Regions from separate parts of the Homo sapiens genome. Here region 1 is linked to region 2. The links are contacts of gene promoters, found by promoter capture Hi-C in human tissues and cell types (Jung and others, 2019). All regions are on one chromosome and are shown on one strand. The core of a region is centred on a gene start or on the middle of the fragment in contact, and the rest is flanking DNA. Distances in the headings are between cores, read along the strand shown.

What was found. Contacts are between HindIII fragments. The study calls those that stand out against the background at their distance.
Region 1: a contact is called between a fragment that was not itself captured here and the fragment with the promoter of C15orf62 in region 2, in 2 of the 25 tissues and cell types used here (lymphoblastoid cells and spleen).

What each region holds. Positions count from the first base shown.
Region 1 is chr15:40,710,266-40,714,941 of GRCh38, reverse strand. All of the region lies in intron 5 of RAD51 (RAD51 recombinase), which reads right to left. Among named protein-coding and RNA genes, the nearest start is that of RAD51, 17 kb to the right of the region's middle. The HindIII fragment of the contact is 9,054 bases long and covers 1-4,676 here.
Region 2 is chr15:40,767,442-40,771,886 of GRCh38, reverse strand. C15orf62 (chromosome 15 open reading frame 62) reads right to left here and starts at 1,907. Exons shown (of 1, transcript NM_001130448.3): 1 at 1-1,907. The coding sequence starts at 1,391. The coding sequence ends at 864. It overlaps DNAJC17 (DnaJ heat shock protein family (Hsp40) member C17), which reads left to right. Exons shown (of 11, transcript NM_018163.3): 11 at 3,825-4,445. The coding sequence ends at 3,947. GCHFR (GTP cyclohydrolase I feedback regulator) reads right to left here. Exons shown (of 3, transcript NM_005258.3): 3 at 4,179-4,445. RefSeq lists enhancers at 774-1,390, 1,348-1,437, 1,391-2,009, 2,628-3,246. The HindIII fragment of the contact is 9,899 bases long and covers 1-4,445 here.

The DNA.
Region 1 (4,676 bases), core at 1,260-3,759, 58 kb after region 2:
TCAGCCTCCCAAAGTGCTGGAATTACAAGCATGAGCCACCATACCCGGCCCAGAATTTTAAAACTACTGCAGTACTTTGAACAAGCATGGGCTAATTCATTTTGTAACCTAACTGTAGCTCTCAACTTTATGACTTTTCTATTAGAGAGAGACCTAACATATAATGGGGTTTTACTTCATTAAATTGAGAAAACAAATGAGAGTAGATAATATTTAGATTTAAGTAATAGTCTAACATCCTCTCTATATCCCTGGTTCCAGCTCTTAGGCTGATGAAATGTAATCTTTTCTATTATTAATTAATTAGCATTCTTTTTCTTTAAAAAAAGTCAACGATCTATATAGTTGTTCAGCCATCTGTAAATGTTATTTTAACAGGCTATATTTACTTGAGAATTTTGCTTTAGTTTATTGTTGACAGACATTATCTGACTACTTAAACATTCTCAGATTAGGATTCTATTTGTACAACTTTGGAGTGTCAGCATGCTATGCTGAGTTGCCATGGCAACTATAGATATTATGTACTGTAGTCTAAATACTTATTCTACATAAGTCCCTGTCAAAACATGGGAAAACATTTCTATTTAAAAAGGTCACATATCATGTCAAATGACGGATGTAAGAGTGACATTTTAAACAGCCCTAATTCCCTTTAGCTATCAAATTTCTAATGGAGCTCACGCAATAGCTATAGCTTCTATAACTTACTCTTCCTCTTCTCAATGTTTCCTCCCTTATTATCATAAAAGGTCTCCTAAGCATCCTCCTCCACCCCTCCCCCTCAGCTCTTTCTTCCTAATGATTATGAGGATCTGGGTGCAGAGGCATTCACCTGTAATCCCAGCTATGTGGGAGGCTGAGGTTGGAGGATTGCTTGCGCTCAGGAGTTCAAGAACAGCCGGTGCAACATAGTGAGACCCAATCTCAAAAAAAAAAAAAAAAAAGAATTTATTTCTGAGGAGAGTTAACAATGGATTAGGTCTACTCGATACTGACATGCTAGCTTGGCTGTCTCATAAGACATATGGCAGCCAGCCAGGCACGGTGGCTCACACCTGTAATCCCAGCATTTTGAGAGACCAAGGTGGGCGGATCACAAGGTCAGGAGATCGAGACCATCCTGGCTAATACGGTGAAAACCTGTCTCTACTAAAAATACAAAAAATTAGCCAGGCGTGGTGGCGGGCGCCTGTAGTCCCAGCTACTCGGGAGGCTGAGGCAGGAAAATGGCGTGAACCCAGGAGGCGGAGCTTGCAGTGAGCAGAGATGGCACCACTGCACTCCAGCCCAGGCGACAGAATGAGACTCCGCCTCAAAAAAAAAAAAAAAAATTGTAACATTTTGGTCTGCAAAGAAAATATCAGTGGAGCAATAAACAATTAAAATGACAACAAAAAGCCGGGCATGGTGGCTCACACCTGTAATCCCAGCACTTTGGGAGGCTGAGGCGGGTGGATCACCTGAGGTCAGGAGTTCAAGACCAGCCTGGCCAACACAGCAAGACCTTGTCTCTACTAAAAATACAAAAAATTAGCTGTGTTGGGTGGCAGGCACCTGTAATCCCAGTTTGGGAGGCTGAGGCTGGAGAACTGCTTGAACCCAGGAGATGGAGGTTGCAGTGAGCCAAGATTGCGCCACTGCACTCCTGCCTAGGCGACAGAGACTCCGTCTCAAATAAAAAAAAAAAAAAAAAGGAAAATAAGAAAAATGGGAGGCTATCAAGCTAGGTTACTTGATGTTAAATTTAAATAAACTTGGGCCAGGCACGGTGGCTCACTCCTGTAATCCCAGCACTTTGGGAGGCCAAGGCGGGCAGATTAACTTGAGGTCAGGAGTTTGAGACCAGCCTGGCCAACATGGTGAAACCTCGTCTCTACTAAAAATACAAAAATTAGCTGGACGTGGTGGCCGTCATGCCTGTAATCCCAGCTATTCGGGAGGCTGAGGCAGGAGAATGGCTTGAACCTGGGAGGCAGAGGTTGCAGCAAGCCAAGATCACACCACTGCACTACAGCCTGGGCAACAGAGCAAGACTCTTTCTCAAAAAAAAAAAAAAAAAAAGAAAAGAAAAGAAAAAAAAACTCAACAGAGTTGAGTCCCGAGGATAGAAAAACACTAGGAAGCCTCTTCTGTAACACTGATATAAGGCAGATTTTGTTTCAGTTGTTTTGATCTCCAACAGTAAGTTGTGCCCATGGCAGAAGTGGGTATAATCTATCTAGATTAAAATAATGCCATGTTTTTCAAAATAACTAAAATTATAATAAAGCTTCAAAAGATTATAACAGAAGAGTTGGTCCATGGGCATGGGCCAGGTTCAAGGATACTTTGTGGACTGGCCACTTATGCAGCACATCCTTAAAGCCAGAGAACATTAAGACTCACTTAGACAAGGAAAAACGGCTCCCCATTACACTGCCTGAAGTTGCAGAAAAGATGAAAGTTTGTTAGCTTTCTCTTCTATATCCTACTCCCTTCCTTTCTCATGGATCTTTCGTTTCCAGATTCCATTTTTACTTCTCTGTGTGACTTAGTTCCACATCTCTCAATACAGCTAGAAATTTTCACTCGGGGTTTGTCACCTCAAACCTGTCATCTCTAAACCTGTACTCATGTTTCCAACAAAACTGTCTTCCCCTCTCAAACACTTTTTAGGTTTACTAAGTTACTGTAATACATTGTTGGGCTGAGGTGTATTTTTTATTGTCAGTCATCAAGCGCTGCCCTTTACAACATCTTTTCCCTACTTCTCTTTATTGTCACTATCTTAGTTTCCTGACCAGCTAATGCTTACTCTTCATAAAATCAAGTTTAAACTTCTTAACCTTCTGAAATAGGATCTTAATTTTTTTTTTTTTTTTGAGATGGAGACAAAATCTTGCTCTGTTGCCCAGGCTGGAGAGCAGTGGTACAATCTTGGCTCATGGCAACCTTGGCCTCCTGGGCTCAAGCGATTCTCCCGCCTCCACCTCCCAAGTAGCTGCCACTACAGGCACAGCCCACGTCTGGCTAATTTTTATATTATTTGTAGAGATAGGGTCTTGCCATGTTGCCCAGGCTGGTCTCAAACTCCTGAGCTCAAGCGATCCACCCACCGTGGCCTCCCAAAGTGCTGGGATTACAGGTGTGAGCTATCATGCCCAGTTTGATGTATCTTTTTAAGGGTCATCTCCTACAACTTTTCTACACAAACTCTAAACCAGTTAAATGACCTTGCTTATTTATTGTCTTTTCCTTCTAACTTATGCCTTCCCATCCTCTGTTCATCCCATTCTATACAGTTAAATGCTTTTAATTTCCTTCCTTCCCAAATTTAGCATTCTTCAGAAGTCTGGTCCAAAATCTTTTCTCCATAAAGTATTCCATGATCACTCTAGGGTGAAATTACCCCTTTCTATTCCTTAAACAGCTAACCCATTTCCTCTGTGACATTCATTTTATATATCAGGCATGTTTTTGGACATCTATTATCTCCACTCATTCAAGCATTTATTGTTTACTGAGAGCCAAACACTGCCTTAGGCACTAGCAATACAGCAGAAAACATGCAGTGGCACGATCCCAGTCACTGGAGCCTCGACCTCTTGGGCTCAAGAGATTCTACCACCTCAGCCTCCTGAGTAGCTAGGACCACAGGTACACATCATCATGCTGGGCTAATATTTTTAATTGTCTGTTTTTGTTTGTTTGTTTTTAGAAATGGCATCTCAGAAACAGGGTCTCACTATGTTGCCCAGGCTGGTCTCAAATTCCTGGTCTCAAGCAATCCTCCCACTTTGGCTTCCCAAAGTACTGGGATTACAGGCATGAAACACCATGCTGGCCTCTTATGAAGTTTTAAGAACATCATCTCTGAAGTCTGGTTTGAGTCCAGTATTTGCTACTTAAATACAATGTATTGGGCAATTATTTAACCTACTGTGTCTATTTCCAAATCTTCCCACCAATAGGAGCATAAGTAAAGGAAAAAGAAACTGAAGGGGTCCAGGGAAGGTTTTTTCCTAATGGAGGAGACACTAGACATATTTGTATACTGATGAGGATAATCTCATAGAGAGGTACAAGAGAAAATGGAAGGAGTAGAGTCCTTGAGAAGGTGGCAGGAGATGGTAACCAAATCATATTGATAGAATGGGCCTTTGAGAAGAAAAGGGACACTTTCTCAATTGTAACCTGAGATAAGAAAAGATGGGCACAAATGTAGATTTGATGCAAAGAGCAGGTTAGGTTTTTGGCTAAGAATGAGAGTTGAAGAGGAGCATAAAGTTCTGATAACAGAAGACGAAGTATGAGATATGAGATGCCTGTCTAACTCAGTGGGAAAGTACACCTAAATGGAGAAAGTAGACTGCCAAGAAGTTTTGAATGTTAATCTAAAGTTTTGTCATCTTGAATTTTTTTCCTTTTTTCATTCTTTTTTTTTTTTTTTTTTTTTTTGAGACAGAGTCTCGCTTCTTTGACCAGGCTGGAATGCAATGGTGCGATCTCAGCTCCCTGCAACCTCTGCCCCCCGGGTTCAAGCGATTCTCCTGCCTCAGTCTCCCAAGTAACTGGGATTACAGGCACGTGCCAACACGCCCAGCTAATTTTTGTATTTTTAGTAGAGACAGGGTTTCACCATGTTGGCCAGGCTGGTCTTGAACTCCTGATCTTTTTTTTTTCTTCTTCTTTTT
Region 2 (4,445 bases), core at 658-3,157:
CTAAGGATTTGCCTGGTCTTTTTCCTGAGTTATACTCTATCTCTACCTATCTCTTCCTATGTGGCCAGCCCCTGTATGCGCCTCCCCTTTGCTGGTGGCTCCAGGCCATGGTCTAGACAGCGCTGTCCATTAGAACTTTGTGCAGCGATGTTTACGTCCATTCTGCACTGACCAGTGTGGTAGCCATTAATCATGTGTGGCCACCGGGCATTTGGAATGTGGAATCTGGAATAACGGTGCAGCTGAGGAACTGAACTGTTAATTTTATTTATTTCAATTCAGTGTCATGCAGTGAGTGGCCACCAGATTAGACAGGGTCAGGCCTTCTCCCCTTTCTTCCTGGGCCTTCCCACTTTCCTCTTCTGCCTGGGTTGGACTGCCTTTACCCAAGCTTGTCCTGTGACCTCTCTCTGTTGACAGTGGCTTCCAAAGAGGCTGGCATGGGGCACTCATCTCTTCTGCTCAGTCTGTGTCCTCCCACTCCCTGATCTGACCCCGTGCCACCTTCTGGCTCTGCCAGCCTCTACCTGGTTCCTGTAGTGCCGCACAGAGCCTCCCTTTCCCGGCACAGCCTCCCTTTCCCGGCATAGCCAGCTTTCTTCAGGGTCCTGCCAGGAAGGGCCGCCCCCCCAACATTTCCAGATTGCCTCTGTCCCTCCACTCTGGGGTGCCTGGAAGGACTGTCCAGGACCCAGAGAGCAGGCAGAGCCCTGGATTCCTATCCTGGAATCCTCCCCCAGGATGAAGAAGCTCTGCCTGCCTGAACCCTCCAGCGATGGGCCTGGAGTCCTGTCCCTGTCCTTTCCTTAATCCCCAGCCTCTGGATCTTCCAGTCACCCCGGCTTTGCCCACCCTCACCCCATTTAGAAGCTGGGCTCGCTAGGAAACTGCTCCCTTAGCATCTGCAGAACTTCCTCAAGAAGTGAAATCCCCAGGTCCACTTTGAAGGAGAGGAAGGGATCACTGAGGTCTGGGGTAGGTGTCCTCTGGAAGCAGGGAGTGTCCACAAGGCCCTTCTCTGAGTGCTGGTGGAGGGCACTCGACAGAGAGAGCGCCGATGGCAGGGTGGCAGAGTAGGCTGCTGTGTAGGCAGGTGGGGGCTCCAGGATGTTGGGGCAGCTTGAGCTCTCTCGGTAGAGGCGTGGGGGCTTGGGTGGGGCCAGCAGGGTGGCCCGGGGCTGCTCGTCCCCCCACAGTGGCAGGCGCCGGCCATCTGGCCTCCCTTGTAGCTCCCGGATGACTTCTCGGTTGCTGTACTCCTCGTGGTCCCCACCTGCTGTGCTGGCCTGGCTAAGCACACTACTCTGTCGCCGGAGCCGCCGTGGCCGCCCCAGGCTCAGCTGCTTGAAGAAGGAGGCGTTGCGGAAGGAGCCTTTCCGCCAGGTCTCCATGGGGCCCAGGGGAGCCAGCAGACAGGTGTTCAGGAGCAGCCAGGGTGCATGTGGTCCCTGCTGGGGCAGTGAGTGCCAGCAGCTGGGGAGGCTCCCCTAGGAGCAGAGGCCTCAGGGTTTCCACTCAGCACAGACCTTTGACCACATCTTGGATGGTGAGAGGAGGGCTCAGGAAGAAGGAACTTTTTTGCCCAGGAGAGCAGACAGCTGGGAGTTCCTGGCAGCAAGAGTTTCCCACAGGGACAGGAGTGGCCTGGTTACTGAATAGGGTAGTGGAAAAAAACCCAGGAGGAAGAAGCAGCACTTACTGGAGCCAGAATGAGGGCAGCTCCGGCGGAGGCAGAGGTGGACCTTCTCGGGCTGGGTGAGGCTGGCGAGCGCTCCTTCCACAGGCAGGCAGCAGATGGCCCGAGCTCACTCGCCCTGGTGTTTGCCTGGCTCCTATATGTCTCTGGGGCAGTGTGGGGCCGTGCCCTCTCTGCCAGTGGCTCCCGGACTCTGATGAGTGGCCTGGCTGTTTGTGGCGGTGGAGATGTGTTTTTGTTCTCAGCTGACTCAGTCAGGTGGGAAGCCAGGTTTCGTGCTCTTGGGTAATTGCAGCATCCGCGTGCAGGGATGGGGCAGCTGGGACCAACACCCCAGGGCAATGGGGAGCTTAAGATTCCTCTGGGGACTCGTGTGGGGGCAGCCCTGCTTTATGTGTCACCACGCGGCTTCCTTTCTGATCACAGCCCCACCACCCTGGGCCCCCAGCAGGTGCGCCTGGCTCCCTGCCCACAGTGTCTGGGTAGGAAGAGTTCGGGGCGGGTGGGAGTTAATTGAAAGGCAGGCGTGTGGAACGATTGTTGGGGAAGGAAGAGACCTGTAGCTGGTATGGGTGACTCAGCCCCGCTGTCAGGCCCTCACGAGCAGGAACAGGAAGGGGGGCAGAGGGTGTGTTAATGGGGAGCAGCGCCATGCCTGTGATGGGCGGGCTCTGCTGCCCAGGGTTGGGCTGGGGGCCCGCCAAGGGTGGCTCCAAGTTTTCTTGGCAGAGCAGCATTAACCTGGGGATGGGAGATGTGGCCTCCTCTTGGCCTGCCATCAGCCTGGCTGCTATTTCCTTGTCCTCCCTTGTTTTACCCTAGAGGGCTCCTGCCAGGAGAGCGGCTGCTGAAGGCCGGGCCGTGTTGCCTCCTACCTGGCTGTGCTCCAGCCCTTCCCCTCTGGCTACCGGGCTTCCTCTGGGGTCCTCCTTCTCTTGCAGGAGGCTGGGCCAGGGAGGCTGCCGTGAATTGTCAGCCGTGCTCTGGGCCAGGCTTAGCAGTCCGGCCTAGCTGGGACTGCTGCAGCCGGGGAGAGGGGAGGGGTGCAGCCATCGGGAGGAACAGGGGAACCCAGGCTGAGTAACACTTCCTGTTTCTCTACACCCCTTACTCCAAACCTGCTGGCCAGGGCCTGGCATCTCAACCCTAGCTGCTCCCTTCCTATTCCCCGGGTCACTGACCACCACATTTTCCTCCTGCCTTGCTCTGTGACAGCGTCCCCATGCGGGGTACCGCGGATCAGGGCCCCACAGCTCTCTGCTACGGGCAGGCCACCGCATCTTGCAATCCCTGGCCTAGCTCACTTCTGTGCCAACTCAGGTGTGCTTCACACTTCTCTGAGAAGCTGTTGGGACCACATGATCATCACACAGCCTAAGCGGCACCGAGGGAGGAAAAGGTTTAATTCCCACCGCAGACCTTATCAGGGCGTGGGTTGGCAGCTTAGGTCCCGCTGTAGAGCTGCTTCTCCACCCTACAGCCTTGGCCCATTCAGATGGTTGTTTATTATTCTTTTGATTATGGGCCCTGCCCTCCAGGAGCCCTGGTGTGTAGTTTTAGAGGCACGCTGGCCTCATGCTTGCCTTTTTCCCCTTCGAGGGTGGGGCATTCCGGGCTGCCTCGGGTAGGGCTCCCTTCTGCATCCTCAGCAAGAGCCAGACCACAGGGCACCGGGCATAGAGAGTGCCAGGGTCAGTGCCCAGCAGAGCCAAGTGCATCCCTGCTCCTCAGACAACTTCCCTTCCTTGGGAACCTAAGAGGCAGAAGCTACGGGGTAGAGGGAAAGGGGTGAAGGGTAAAGGGCCCAGAGGAAATGAAGGGAGACGAGGGCCTGGCTTAGAGGGCCCGCAGGTGATTCCTGAGAAACAGATGGACCGGAGCTGACGCGGCCTGGGGAAAGGGAGGGGGAGCTGGCTGGGTAGAAGCCGGCCTGGAGGCCAAAGGTGGCGTGTTCTGGGGGACACAGGCGAGCCAGGATTCCAAAAGGATGCTCCGGGTTCCTTCCCTTCCTCTGCCGTCCTCCCTCCGAGACTCTTAGAACGCAGCACTGCCTCGGCACCGTACTCGGAGTCTGTGAGGCTGTGCCCTGCTGTCCCTGACCCCTCCCTGTCCCTGCCCTGTCCGACAGGGCTCAGTGCTGTCAGAGAGGGACTACGAGAGCCTCGTCATGATGCGCATGCGCCAGGCGGCCGAGCGGCAACAGCTGATCGCACGGATGCAGCAGGAAGACCAGGAGGGGCCGCCTACGTAGCCCCAGCTCCAGCCATCCACCCCTCAGCCCTTTTCTTCAACGTCACCAATAAATTTTTTTTTTTTTTAAGATTTTACCTCTATCCCATACATAGGTATAAGGTGCTGGGCTCTGCCGCAGAGCGCTCCACCCAGGCCTGGCGCCCCTCCCAGGAAGTGGGCAGACCCCCAGGGAAACGCTCCGCAGGGTGAGAGTCCCAGAGTCCGTGCACAAGCAGAGCACAGGCGCAGCCACTCATCACAGCCCTTTATTGGCTTGGGCTAGCTATGCAGGAGCCACGCGCCAGGGCCGCTGGAGTGCCCAGCTCCGGCCCGGGGCAGCTGCCCGAGGAACATGGCCTACACAAGGCCCTCGGCCCAGGCCCGAAGCAGGAGGGCAGCTGGGAGCACCAGGGCACCGGGCACTGCCCTCTCCCACTGCTTGACGCAGGGTTTCAGAGAAGGCCATTCACTGCCCTTTGGGGCTGGGCCCATGGCGGTGATGATTTGGGAAGAGAGG